Linked DNA regions of Homo sapiens: all the other regions are linked to region 1. The links are contacts of gene promoters, found by promoter capture Hi-C in blood cells and fetal thymus (Javierre and others, 2016). All regions are on one chromosome and are shown on one strand. Each heading gives the region's core, a stretch centred on a gene start or on the middle of the fragment in contact. The rest is flanking DNA. Distances are from core to core; before and after follow the strand shown. Region 1 holds the start of YKT6 (YKT6 vesicular SNARE protein). Region 2 holds the start of CCM2 (CCM2 scaffold protein). Region 3 holds the start of PURB (purine rich element binding protein B). Region 4 overlaps H2AZ2 (H2A.Z variant histone 2).

The links. The method cuts DNA at HindIII sites, captures the fragments that hold promoters and counts their contacts. A CHiCAGO score of 5 or more calls a contact.
Region 2: the fragment with the promoter of CCM2 here is called in contact with the fragment with the promoter of YKT6 in region 1 in 2 of 17 cell types (fetal thymus and total B cells); the score reaches 8.7 in fetal thymus.
Region 3: the fragment with the promoter of PURB here is called in contact with the fragment with the promoter of YKT6 in region 1 in 4 of 17 cell types (fetal thymus, non-activated CD4 T cells, naive CD4 T cells and 1 more); the score reaches 7.6 in fetal thymus.
Region 4: a fragment that was not itself captured here is called in contact with the fragment with the promoter of YKT6 in region 1 in 1 of 17 cell types (fetal thymus); the score reaches 5.2 in fetal thymus.

What each region holds. Positions count from the first base shown.
Region 1 is chr7:44,199,205-44,202,659 of GRCh38, reverse strand. It overlaps YKT6 (YKT6 vesicular SNARE protein), which reads right to left and starts at 1,682. Exons shown (of 7, transcript NM_006555.4): 1 at 1,421-1,682. The coding sequence starts at 1,524. RefSeq lists a silencer at 1,506-1,575. The HindIII fragment of the contact is 756 bases long and covers 1,036-1,791 here.
Region 2 is chr7:44,998,415-45,001,869 of GRCh38, reverse strand. It overlaps CCM2 (CCM2 scaffold protein), which reads right to left and starts at 1,669. Exons shown (of 10, transcript NM_031443.4): 1 at 1,507-1,669. The coding sequence starts at 1,536. LOC102723334 (a long non-coding RNA gene) reads left to right here and starts at 1,862. Exons shown (of 4, transcript XR_428139.4): 1 at 1,862-2,152; 2 at 2,497-2,590. RefSeq lists silencers at 1,193-1,722, 2,353-2,402. The HindIII fragment of the contact is 6,187 bases long and covers 1-3,455 here.
Region 3 is chr7:44,883,564-44,887,018 of GRCh38, reverse strand. PURB (purine rich element binding protein B) reads left to right here and starts at 1,489. Exons shown (of 1, transcript NM_033224.5): 1 at 1,489-3,455. The coding sequence starts at 1,671. The coding sequence ends at 2,609. RefSeq lists enhancers at 1,060-1,309, 1,458-2,417 and silencers at 1,300-1,659, 1,950-1,999. The HindIII fragment of the contact is 4,558 bases long and covers 1-2,539 here.
Region 4 is chr7:44,841,676-44,845,130 of GRCh38, reverse strand. It overlaps H2AZ2 (H2A.Z variant histone 2), which reads left to right. Exons shown (of 5, transcript NM_012412.5): 2 at 1,777-1,854. Among named protein-coding and RNA genes, the nearest start is that of H2AZ2, 4.7 kb to the left of the region's middle. The HindIII fragment of the contact is 2,973 bases long and covers 64-3,036 here.

The DNA.
Region 1 (3,455 bases), core at 433-2,932:
ACAGATAAGCAAAATGTGGTGAATAATACAATGGATTATTCAGCCTTAAAAAGGAAAGAAATTCTGATATATGCAACAAGATGCATGAGCCTTGAGGACATTATGCTACATGAAATAAGCCAGACACACAAAAACTATATGATTCCATTTATCTAAGGTCGCCAGAAAAGTCAAAATCACAGAGACAAATTAGAATGGCAGTTGCCATGGGCTGGGGGAGAAGGGAATGTGTTTAATAGACACGAATTTGATAAAAAGGAGTTCTGGAGACGATTGACAGTGATGGCTGCACAACACTATCAATCTATTTCATATCAATGCACTCACTACACGCTTAAAGATAGTGAAGATAAATTTTGTGTACCATTTTACCACAATTAAAAATATTTTTTTAAAAGAACTCAAAGAAGCAGAAAGTTTCAACAAAATAACATTTTTTTTTTTTTACATCCAGCAAGTCCTTGGCAAAGAACTCTCATCAAGAACCAGCTGCACTGAAGCAGGGAAAACAGAATCCAAACGGCAGATTCCATCAGATTTTGAGACAAGATGACCATAGATACCGACCATGTAGGGTCCTCCTTCTTTCGTGCCTGAGTCACCCCAATCCCTCCCACGAATGGTCTGGAAGTGTCTGTGTTACTTCTAACACGTTCCAGCAATTAAAGCGCCCCAGAAACAAGTAAAAGCCTGTAAGCCCTACAGATCCCATGCTTCATTTGCATCTTCCGTGTGGAATCCTTTTGTACCACTAGTGTCCAACTAAAAAGCGTTAAACCTGGCTTTCAGTTCTAGCTGGTTGTGATATAACCTCTTGGTACCTCAGTGACTTCACCCATTAAAAACAAACAAAAAAAAGTATATCACTATCTCTCATACAGAATTGTTGGGAAGCCCCGCAAGAAAATCAAAATATGGCTCTCAAGATGCGGCACCCAAGCTCCCAGAGTCAGAATCACTGGGTGGGAAGTGTTGGTCTAAAATATAAATACCGAGGCCTCAATCTACTAATTCAGAACATCTTGGCATGAAGCTTGGAAATCTGCACTACTTCACAGTCTCCTTAAAATTTTTACACGACAGAAATTTGAAAAACACTGAGTAGAGAACTATATTCTAGAATGGTATAAGCTCTTAAAGAGCTAATGTTGGTTCCTCAAAGGTAGAGTCCACGGCCAGATTCCATTATAGGAGACCAAGCCCGGACAGCAGACCCCGGGCCCTCCCCACCCCGCCCCGCCTCTGACTCGGACACCAGCCTTCTCAGACCCCGGGCACTCGGCCACCCCGCCCTGCCCCTACCCTTGGCCTCCTCCACCCTCCCCTCATCCCTCCGCCGACCCCAGGCCCACTCCGACTCGGACCCCCACCCCAGTCCTCTCCGCCCGACCGCCACGGCCCACCAGCCTGTGCCGCTCACCTGGATCTCTGGAAAAAGCTGAAGGAAGACACATCGTATGCGGCTTTGAGCAGCACCACCTTGGCCTCGCCTTTGTAGAGGACGCTGAGGCTGTACAGCTTCATGGCTCCGCGCCCTCAGGCCGCCCGCCTGCCCAGCTGCGGGACCCGTTCTCAGGGAGCAGCGCGGCCGCCGCCCCTCGGGACCGCCGCCGCCTACCGGCCTCTCAGCAGCCGGCTGCTGACGGGGCCACCGCCGGCTTCCTCCTCCTGGCTCGCAATCCACTTCCGGATCCGGTCAGCCTGGTTGAGGGTTCTCATACTCCGGATGCAGAAATGTGAGCCCGGAAGTACAATGCAGCGAGGGGCGGGATGCCACGCCTCGCGTAAGCTTGGCCCCTCCCTGCTCGCCAGGTGGAGTCGGGCGCGCGGCGGGATACCGTACTGTCTTGTGCTGGGTGGTGCTGGGCCTCCCACAGCGGCCTGAACCCTTCTTTTTTTTTTTTTTCTTTTCTTTCTTTTTTTAAAGTAAGCATTTTTTTTATTATTATACTTTAAGTTTTAGGGTACATGTGCACAACGTGCAGGTTTGTTACATATGTATACATGTGCCATGTTGGTGTGCTGCACCCATTAACTCGTCATTTAGCATTAAGTATATCTCCTAATGCTATCCCTCCCCCCTCCCCCCACCCCACAACAGTCCCCGGTGTGTGATGTTCGCCTTCCTGTGTCCATGTGTTCTTATTGTTCAATTCCCACCTATGAGTGAGAACATGCGGTGTTTGGTTTTTTGTCCTTGCAATAGTTTGCTGAGAATGATGGTTTCCAGCTTCATCCATGTCCCTACAAAGGACATGAACTCATCATTTTTTATGGCTGCATAGTATTCCATGGTGTATATGTGCCACATTTTAGGAGGAGCTTGTACCATTCCTTCTGAAACTATTCCAATCAAAAGAAAAAGAGAGAATCCTCCCTAACTCATTTTATGAGGCCAGCATCATCCTGATACCAAAGGGTGGCAGAGAGAGACACAACAAAAAAAGAATTTTAGACCAATATCCTTGATGAACATTGAAGCAAAAATCCTCAGTAAAATACTGGCAAACCGAATCCAGCAACACATCAAAAAGCTTATCCACCATGATCAAGTGGGCTTCATCCCTGGGATGCAAGGCTGGTTCAACATACGAAAATCAGTAAACGTAATCCAGCATATAAACAGAACCAAAGACAAAAACCACATGATTATCTCAATAGATGCAGAAAAGGCCTTTGACAAAATTCAACAACCCTCATGCTAAAAACTCTCAATAAATTAGGTATTGATGGGACGTATCTCAAAATAATAAGAGCTATCTATGACAAACCCACAGCCAATATCATACTGAATGGACAAAAACTGGAAGCATTCCCTTTGAAAACTGGCACAAGACTGGGATGCCCTCTCTCACCACTCCTTTTCAACATAGTGTTGGAAGTTCTGGCCAGGGCAATCAGGTAGGAGAAGGAAATAAAGGGTATTCAATTAAGAAAAGAGGAAGTCAAATTGTCCCTGTTTGCAGATGACATGATTGTATATCTAGAAAACCCCATCGTCTCAGCCCAAAATCTCCTTAAGCTGATAAGCAACTTCAGCAAAGTCTCAGGATACAAAATCAATGTGCAAAAATCACAAGCAGTCTTATACACCAATAACAGACAGAGAGCCAAATCATGAGTGAACTCCCATTCACAATTGCTTCAAAGAGAATAAAATACCTAGGAATCCAACTTACAAGGGATGTGAAGGACCTCTTCAAGGAGAACTACAAACGACTGCTCAATGAAATAAAAGAGGATACAAACAAATGGAAGAACATTCCATGCTCATGGGTAGGAAGAATCAGTATCGTGAAAATGGCCATACTGCCCAAGGTAATTTATAGATTCAATGCCATCCCTATCAAGCTACCAATGACTTTCTTCACAGAATTGGAAAAAACTAAAGTTCATATGGAACCAAAAAAGAGCCCGCATTGCCAAGTCAATCCTAAGCCAAAAGAACAAAGCTG
Region 2 (3,455 bases), core at 420-2,919, 800 kb before region 1:
CCTGTTTATGCCTAAATTTTTTCATTACCCAACTGGAAAATTCTTGATAATTTTACTGTTTTTTCACTTGTACCCCAAAAACAGTCTTACTGCTTCTCTCTCTCTCTCCCTATTTGCTGGGTGTTTCATGTTTCTACCAAAGCTGATAGACAGCTCTAGAAAAAAAAATCACTCAATTCCATCCTTGCCTATCACACACAGGTAGATGGGCCAGGTACTCCTGTAAGCGGTGCACAATGAGGTCATCAGTCCTTAGCGCGCTCTTGGATCCCGGCATTCCACAGAGCACATGGCTCACTTTCCGCAAAGCTCAGCATCATCCACACTCGGGCCTGATGGTCCCTACTAAGCAGCCACCGGGTTAGCACCTCTCCTTTCCAGCTAACTCCTTTTACACTGCTTGGCTCCTCCCTCTTCTGTGCGCAGCACGCATCTCTAATCTAACACCTGCAGGCTGAATCACTATCTTGAGCTATTTTCCAGACTTAAAACATCTTTGTAGATAACCGCAAATTATACTGCACCTAAATTAGACATGCATGGTGCTAACATGAAACAATGAGTTGAGAAAGTAGAGAACCAGCACCACAGGACTCCCTGAAGGCCACCTGGCTACATTCTATTTCAAACAGGACTTTTAAATGGGGCACTCTGTCAAACAAGGTGGTGAGTAGCTGTCAATTAAAGGACACTTCCCTGCAGAGTTCAGGGTAGTAAAATCATAGTTAGGAATTATCGAGGTCTGCTTTAAACTTGTGGATAAAAGTGCGCACACACACATCAAAAAGAAAATGATAGCCAAGACGTGAAGATTATAAAGCATTTATTTGAAAAAGATACATTTTATTAAAATCCATTTTCCACTTTAATGGTAGTTCAATCCACATCGTTTTTCCAGTCTTAAAATGTTTCTTTATCGACTACTATAACCCTTTACTGTAATTAAAGCCACATTTTGTAAAACTACATAAACTGGGGTTTGACTATGAACTATGTCCTAAATCCCACTGCCAAATGTAGCTAGCGTCACTAAAATCAATCAATGGTTTTAGGTCTGAGTGATAGTGGACGAGTGAGCTGGCCATAAGGTGAAGGCCACCCTTGCTTTTACTGGATATCCAAAAACGAAGTCCAGTGAGCAGCAAACGTCTCCACGTTAACCACACAGCCCACTAGCTCCAGTTCCAGCCCTGGACAGCTTTCTGGCCCCTCGCCGGGCCCACTTCCTCTGCAGCCCCAGGTCCCGACGCGCAGGGAAGGCCGTCTGGGGCCGAGGTCGGGGCGAGCCGCTGCCCGGGCCAGAGGAAAGGCGCGGCGCTTCCTGCCCGCCCGGCCGCGAAAGCCCACCTGACCATTGTCCGGGGTCTCGCCCTGCCCCGCCCCGCCCCGCCAGCTGGCCCACTGCCCCCCCCCCCGGGCCCCAAGGAACACCCGCCCACCCCACCCTGGCCCCTCAACCCAGCCGCCCGCCGACCACAGCAGTAGGACGCCCCCGCGCACGCTCACCTTCTTGCCCTTCTTGCCCTCCTCTTCCATATCGCCGCGTGCGGCTCCCGCGGCCCGCCCGGCCCGCCCCGGGAGCCCCGCCGCCAGCAGCCGCTACATGCTCGACCCGGGCCCGCCGCCCCCGCGCTCCCGGCGCCGCCCGCCAGCCGGGCCCGAAGTCTCCGCCCCGGCCGCGCCCCACACCCGCACTTCCGGGCCCGAGCCCCCTCCGCCCCGCCCAGGCCCCACCTTCCCCAGCGCAGGCCCCGCCCACGGTTGTCGCTCATCCTCACTTTCAGGCCCAAGGGAATCCGACCCGCAGCGATCAGACCCCGCCCCTTCAGGGAGAACACGGCCCGTTGGCCCCGCTCACGGCGAGAGCACCGCCCACAGGCTGAAGATCCTGCCCCTTCAGGACGGCCGAGAACGCGCCTGCCTTGCACCACCCCCACCCCGCCCCGCGTCCTTCAGGAGAGCCGGAAACGCTCCTACCCCTACTTCGCTTCTGCACGGCCGCGAGAACGCACCTGTCCAGCCCCCTGTTCGCTCCGCCCACTCAGCGCGCGCGGGAGCGCGCGCGGGAGCAGCTCCAACTTTTTCAATTTGCCGCCATCTTTACGGCGGCCGACTTCCCAGCCTGCCTCGCGTCCAGGGAGGCGGAGCTCAGGTCTCTGAAAAGGGGACGGGGGGCGGGGGACGGGGGACGGGGGCCGGCGGGAGGGGACGCGGCCGGCAGATGGCGAAGGAGGGGCGCGAGGAGGCGGCCACTGTTGAGGGGCGGGGCGTCCCGCCGAGAGTCTGGGTGCGGTGCGGTTTTCTTTTTTCTTGTGTCCCACTTTATTCCCTGAGCCACAGGGAATCCGTTTTCTAGTACTTCTCTGTTATAAAGTCTGCCTGCCTTAGACAAACACATTTGGAAAATAGAAGTGCAACCACAAGGATGTGCAGACCCTATCAGAATAAAATCGTAGAACCTTACCAGTCATCCGGTATAATTTCCACATTTTCCAGATGAGGTCCGGGGAATGAGGTGATTCGCCCAAAAGCACACTACAAATTGGAGTCACCAGCAGGTCTGCTATTTTGCCACTAAACCAATCTGCCGGTAAGAACTTTGTAGCACAGCTAGAATGTAAACTGTGTTTTTTTGGTGGTTTTTTTTTTTTTTTGAGACGGAGCCTTGCTCTGTCGCCCAGGCTGGAGTGCCAGTGGCGTGGATCTCGGCTCACTGCAAGCTCTGCCTCGCGGGTTCACGCCGTTCTCCTGCCTCAGCCTCCCGAGTAGCTGGGACTACAGGCGCCAGCCACCACACCTGGCTAATTTTTGTATTTTTAGTAGAGACGGGGTTTCACCATGGTCTGGATCTCCTGACCTGGTGATCCGCCCACCTCGGCCTCCCAAAGTGCTGGGATTACAGGCGTGAGCCACCGCGCCCGGCCTAATAATTCTTTATATTAAACTTTTCTTTACTGTGTTTCTGTCTCCTGACTGGGCCTATGTTATACTGATATTCAAAAGAAATACTTGGTCTCTAGACCTCTCCAAAGGCATAAGTATTCCATTCTCTGCAAGATAAAGCAGAGATAGTGGAAACACCCTTTCAATCTGCCTTCTGCAATAATCCAGCTTGCCACATTTACACACGCAAATGATGTAGCGCATCTGGTTGTCATTATTTTCCCACCATTCACAGAACAAAGGCCTGATATTTAAAGTCTTCCACCGTCTTCCACAAATGCATATTTATCACTCCATAATACAGTAAACAACACTACTAAAACTTCTCTTAGCCTAACTCTGGATGTGCTGACTTCCTCAGGCTGTTCTTATCCATCAGAATACCTTTGCCCTGTCTTTGCATACACAGGTTCATGCTTCAAGCAAAAGTCCACTGGCTAATGATCAGATGGTGATAACTGGGAATAAAGACAATAAAATGAGAAAAGCAAAAAGGCTGTTAGCTTGCTATA
Region 3 (3,455 bases), core at 240-2,739, 680 kb before region 1:
TTCTGACTTTAATTTATATTTCCCTAATGATGAATAATGTTGAGCACTGTTTCATGTGCTTACTGGCTTTTTTGACGAAGTGTCTGTTAAAATCTTTCACCTTTTATATTGGGTTATCTATTATTTGTGTTCTTTACAAGTCCATTGTTGGATTCACTATCTATGAATAACTACATTTAGGCTGGGTGTGGTGGCTCACATCTGTAATCCCAGCACTTTGGGAGGCTGAGGCGGGCAGATCACCTGAGGTCAGGAGTTCAAGACCAGCCTGGCCAACATTGTGGAACCCCATCTCTACTAAAAATACAAAAATTAGCCGGGTGTGGTGGCGGTTGCCTGTAATCCCAGCTACTCAGGAGGCTGAGGTAGGAGAATTGCTTGAACCCGGGAGGTGGAGGGTGTAATGAGCTAAAATCACGCCACTGCACTCCAGCCTGGGTGACAGAGCAAGACTCAAAAAAAAAAAAAAAAAAATTTAAGGATGAGGACATTTTGGCTTTGGAAAATCAAGTAACTGGTCAAGGTCACAGATTCAAACCCAGTGCAGTTGCAGAGCCTACACTTTTTAACACTATTCCAATTCTGCCTCTTGTTACACCTCAATGCTTACAACAAAAAGACCTCATAGGAATTATTCATTTTATTGATAAAGAAACTAAAGATTGGCAGTCAATTTCCTTAACCACTTTAATATGGCTAACTGTGGGGACAGTTAACTGATCTCTGGATCCCAAATCTAACCTCATCCTAAATCATCTTCTTTCTATATTGTTCCCACAGTGATCTTTCCAAAATGTGAACCTGATCACATACGGTGGCTCCAGACTCTGGGGTAGGCACTAACTCTCCCGCACTGCAAATGGCTTTCCTTGATCTAATCCACCCTCCAGTGTCATCTACGACCATTCTTCAGGCATACACACCCCCAGCTGCTCTGAGCTCCCAGCATCAGGCCCTGGGTGCCTCTGCACTGCCGTCTCCTATGCTGGGTGGCTCTTCTCCAGAGTTGCCAGGCCAACTGCAGTTTGCCCTTCAGAGTCAGCTCATGCCTCCTCTAGGGAACCCCACAGGCTGGTCAGAACCCGCTTCCGAGTGCTCCAAAGGATCTCCCTCCCCCCGGTCGCCAGTGTATAGACTGGAACTCTGTTCCCAGCACACAACCAGCGCGAGCAGGCTGGGGCCTGAGTATGCTCAGCTAACGCCCCGGAAGCGAGAAGGAGGGAAGTGGACGACACCGGAGTCTAAAGTAAAAGTGTCACGGGAAGAGGCGCGTAGACAGACGCAGCGGGCGGCTGAGTCACGCTAAGGCTGGCAAGTCCCCAGGGCTAGAAACCGAGCAGTAACACTAGCCTACTCTCAGCTTGCCGCCCGCCCGGCGCGGCCCCTGACGTCACCCCTCTGCGCCACGCCGCCGCGGCGCTTCCGGCCGCGAGGCCGCGGAGGGCGGGACGGAGTGACTTCACGGGAAATCGCGCGCCGGAAGTGGCTAGGGCTGCACGGAAGTCGCGGGGGCGGGGCGCGGAGGCGATGGGGGGGCGGCGGCGGCCGGCGATGAGCGGCGGGAGCGCGTGAGCGAGCCGGGCGGGCGAGGCTGGGGGGCCCCGGAGCGCGAGCCGGAGGGCGGGGGCGCGAGCGCGGCGGGCGGTGGCGGCGAGGCGGCGGCCTAGAAGATGGCGGACGGCGACAGCGGCAGCGAGCGCGGCGGCGGCGGTGGGCCGTGCGGGTTCCAGCCCGCGTCCCGCGGCGGCGGCGAGCAAGAGACGCAGGAGCTGGCCTCGAAGCGGCTGGACATCCAGAACAAGCGCTTCTACTTAGATGTGAAGCAGAACGCCAAGGGCCGCTTCCTCAAGATCGCCGAGGTGGGCGCGGGCGGTTCCAAGAGCCGCCTCACGCTGTCCATGGCGGTGGCCGCCGAGTTCCGCGACTCGCTGGGCGACTTCATAGAACACTACGCGCAGCTGGGCCCTAGCAGCCCCGAGCAGCTGGCGGCTGGCGCCGAGGAGGGCGGCGGGCCGCGGCGCGCGCTCAAGAGCGAATTCTTGGTGCGTGAGAACCGCAAGTACTACCTGGACCTCAAGGAGAACCAGCGCGGCCGCTTCCTGCGCATCCGCCAAACGGTCAACCGCGGCGGTGGCGGCTTCGGCGCGGGCCCCGGGCCGGGCGGCTTGCAGAGCGGCCAGACCATCGCGCTGCCTGCGCAGGGCCTCATCGAGTTCCGCGACGCGCTGGCGAAGCTCATAGACGACTACGGAGGCGAGGACGACGAGCTGGCAGGCGGCCCGGGAGGCGGCGCCGGGGGCCCAGGGGGCGGCCTGTATGGAGAGCTCCCGGAGGGCACCTCCATCACCGTGGACTCCAAGCGCTTCTTCTTCGATGTGGGCTGCAACAAATACGGGGTGTTTCTGCGAGTGAGCGAGGTGAAGCCGTCCTACCGCAATGCCATCACCGTACCCTTCAAAGCCTGGGGCAAGTTCGGAGGCGCCTTTTGCCGGTATGCGGATGAGATGAAAGAAATCCAGGAACGACAGAGGGATAAGCTTTATGAGCGACGTGGTGGGGGCAGCGGCGGCGGCGAAGAGTCAGAGGGTGAGGAGGTGGATGAGGATTGAAACGGGCAGCTTCCCCTACAGGCCTCCACCCAACCACCATCCCCTTGGCTAGAGAATTCCCTTTCCTGCTCATCCCCAGTGAGCTAGTGGAGAGGGAGCAAGGGAGGCCGCAGAGGGAAAAAACAAAACGTAACACAGTTAAGAGAAATAATCGTAAGAGAACAGTGACGGACAACTTGAGAAAAGCAGTCAAGTTCCAAGGAACTGACAGCAACCTGCAAAGAGGAAAACAGCATCTCCTCACCTGCGTAAAATTGTCTCAGCTTCTGTTGTTTCTCAACTGAGGTTCGTAAACCCATCAGGATAATCCCTGGAGGGAATAGATCCTTGCACATCCAGGGCAAGAAACATGTCCAAGTTACCCAGACCATTGATAACAGTTGCATTTAGGTTGCACCTGGGTAATCTGGCATAAAAGATCTCTCTAGGCCTCACTGTTGCGGTGTCTATCCCTTCACCTCCATTGAAATCAGCATTTTGGATCTAGGTCTTCATGGAATCCTTGAGAAGAGAGGCCTTTACAATTACCCAGTTCTGAGGGTTCAGGTTCACGAAAAGAAATGCAACTTGGGATAATCATGAACAGGTTAAAGATAAGATTTCAAGAAGCCATCTAAGAATACAGAACCAAATTGGATCCATTTTTTTAAAAAAATGGTTTTGCATGGAACCTGGACCAAGGCAAATGTCTTTTCTTCGCAGAATTGTTTTCCAGGATGCCAGTGGATTCAGATAGCAATGCTTGGAGTAGAATCCGTTACTAAAATAGTTTCAAAGTTGACAAAAAATTTTCAAAGATAAAAGCAGTTTTACATTGGGGGTTGCTGAGGTAGGCACAAGAAAAAG
Region 4 (3,455 bases), core at 301-2,800, 640 kb before region 1:
TTTAGCTTTAAAAAATTTTTAAGGAAAGGGTTAGCTACAAAGGGGATATGCCATTTCAAAGCTTACCATCTATTTTGAAAGAATAGCCCCTCAAACAGCCAATCTTGTAAACTGATTTCTTTTTTTAACAGTAAAGAAATAATCTGTTTAAATGGTAAAAGCAAAATATATGAGAGAAAATTAGTTTTCTTAAGTCAGACCTTTAGTATTTCCTCCCGAGAGGCAAATAACATTTCTAATTTATTGTGTCACCTACTAGAAATACATGTGTACACATATACTCTATAATACCCCATATTTACTTAAAAGCTCATTACATTGGCACATACTTTGCCTTTTTCATGCAGAAATAGGTTTTTTTAAAGCGTACAGTTCAGTGGCATTAAGTACATTTATAGTGTGCAACCATCACTGCCTTCTGCCTCTAGAACTTTTTCATCTTCCCAAGTGGAAACTCTACCCATTCAACAATAACTCGGCCAGGCGCAGTGGCTCACGCCTGTAATCCCAGTACTTTGGGAGGATGAGACAGGCAGATCACTTGAGGTCAGGAGTTCAAGACCAGCCTGGCCAACATGCAGAAACCTTGTTGGTACTAAAAATACAAAAATTAGCAGGGCATGGTGGCGCGCACCTATACTACCAGCTACTTAGGAGGCTGAGGCAGGAGAATCACTTGAACCCAGGAGGCAGCTACCCCTGGCAACCACAAATCTGCTTTCTGACCATGAACTTTACTATTTTAGGGACCTCATAAGTAGAATCATACAGTATTTGTCTTTTTTGTAACTGGCTTATTTTCCTTAGCATAATGTCCTCAAGGCCCATTCATGTTGTAGCTTGTGTCAGAATTTCCTTTTTAAAGCTGAATACTATTCCATTATATGTATATCATTTTGTTCATCCATCATTGGACACTCAAGATTGTTTCTACCTTTTGGCTATTCTGAATAATGCTTCTGTGAACGTGGGTATACATGTATTTGTTTGAATCCTTGCTTTCAATTTTTAGGTGTATACCTAGAAGTGGAATTGCTAGACTATATGACAATTCTGTGTTTAATTTTTTGAGGTTTTTTTTTTTTTTCTTGGAACATGCTTTATTTTTCTGAGAGCTAAGTTCTAAATATTTCTGTGGAAGTAATATATGTTACATTGACATTGATAAAAATTGTGAAATATTTCATGTATGCATAAAAGTTATATTGACTTGCAAGATTCTTTAATCTGGAAATTGATAAATATGTTTGTTTTTAAAAATCTCATATTTTTCAGCCTGGCACTGTGGCTTATGCCTGTAATCCCAGCACTTTGGGAGGCCTAGGCGGGCGGATCACTTGAGGTCAGGAGTTCAAGACCAGCTTGGCCAACATAGTGAAACCCACCTCTACTAAAAATACAAAAATTAGCCATGTGTGGTGGTGTGCGCCTGTAATCTCAGCTACTCAGGAGGCTGAGGCAGGAGAATCGCTTGAGCCCAGGAGGTGGAGTTTGCAGTGAGTCAAGGTCGCACCACTGCACTCCAGCCTGGGCAACAGAGCTAGACTCCATCTCAAGAAAAAAGAAAAATATTTTAAATAAGTGTTTAAGGTTTGATTTCTTTGATAGAAATTATAAAAGGTGATAGAATCCCATGTATATTTACAAATGAGGAAGGGGATCACCTACATATTGTTAACTACCTAAAGTAAAACTAGAAAAAATTCTGTTTCCAGAATATTTTTGAAGTAGTATTTTCAACTCTTTTCATTCAAAAAAATTTTTTTTTGCATTTAGGCTGGAGGCAAAGCTGGAAAGGACAGTGGGAAGGCCAAGGCTAAGGCAGTATCTCGCTCACAGAGAGCTGGGCTACAGGTAATGAATCCATGCTGTCATTACATTATTATTTTCTTTACTGTTGTAATTTATGACCTATGTTTCATCAATTACAAAAATCTACTTGTATTACTACAGACTTTTTTTTTTTTTTTTTTTTTTTTTTTTTTTTTTTTTTGAGACAGAGTCTCACTCTGTCGTCAGGCTGGAGTGCAGTGGTGCAATCTCGGCTCACTGCAACCTCTGCCTCCTGGATTCAAGCGATTCTCCTGCCTCAGGCTCCCACATAGCTGGGACTGCAGGCGTGCGCCACCATACCCAGCTAGTTTTTGTATTTTTAGTAGAGACGGGATTTCACCATGTTGGCCAAGATGGTCTCAATCTCTTGACCTCGTGATCTGCCTGCCTCAGCCTCCCAGAGGGCTGGAATTACAGGCATGAGCCACCGCGCCTGGCTGAGAAACCCTTTTAATCAGGAAGGCTAAGCTGTAAACTGTTATCCTCTTGGCAGTGGTAAGCCATTGAGAGTTTGAGCCAGAGGACAACATTATCCAGATGATACCGAAAGAAGGGGGATGGGAACTTAAACTGATATGCACATTCTGTATTTTAGGTCTCCATGTATATTCCCAATTAGAATTTATTTTAAGGCATACTTAATTTGAAGTAGAAAATGGAAGGCCAATGGAGGTTTTTGCAGTGGTTTAGGAATAAAGTAACATACTTGAATGGGAAGGAGTAGAAAGCATGTGTGTGCAGAAAATAGGTGAAGCAGTATAAGGTTGAGAGAAAGTCACAGGTTTCTCTAAGGCTTAGAACCTAAGGAACAGAGGAGTTTGTAGTAGGGGCAAGTTATGAGTAAATTTAAATGGAATCATTTTGAAGTTCACTAAAACATCCATGTGAAAATGTCCAGAAGTTGGAAACATGAGTTCAGCTTTCTAATAGAGGTGATAGAATTAGGAATTTGAGATCATTTATGTAAAATGGATAGTTTATGTTATGGATGAGTTTCCTAACCTAAGAGAATGAGAAAGGAGCACAGGGACGTTGGTGGACCCCTGAAAAACTTTAAGAAAAGGCTGAGGAGTAGTCAGACTTGGTATGAGAACTCTGAAGTCTAAGATGAAATGTTTTTGAGGGCCTACTGTATGCCAGACAACATACTGGTTACTAAGGATACAAAGGAAAAGAAGACATAAATCTTGCCCTTAAGAAGCTTTTGGTCACTTAGAGATGAAGTATAAATGCAAAAAAAAGATTGCTTGTTTTTATTAAGGAAGTAAAATGTCACTGCTGGCCTTCAAAGGTCAAGTTAGGGTTAGGAAAAATGGGTGACAAGGAAGTAAGGGTTTCAGGATTTGTTTTTTCAATTCAGTCTTTGGAAAGAGACTGTCTAGACTGTAACTGGAAGCAGTTTTCATAGATTGTGAAGTTTTCAGTAAAGTCTGTAGAAGGAAAGGAACCAGCGGAAAGGAAGTAATTGTAGCTGTTGAAATAATGGAGCAGTGAAGGGTTGAGGGAGGCCTGTAAGAAAGGCACAGACTGGCGGGGCACAGTGGCTCATGCCTGTAATCCCAGCACTTTGGGAGGCTAAGGTGGACAGATCACTCAAAACCCTGTCTCTACTAAAAATACAA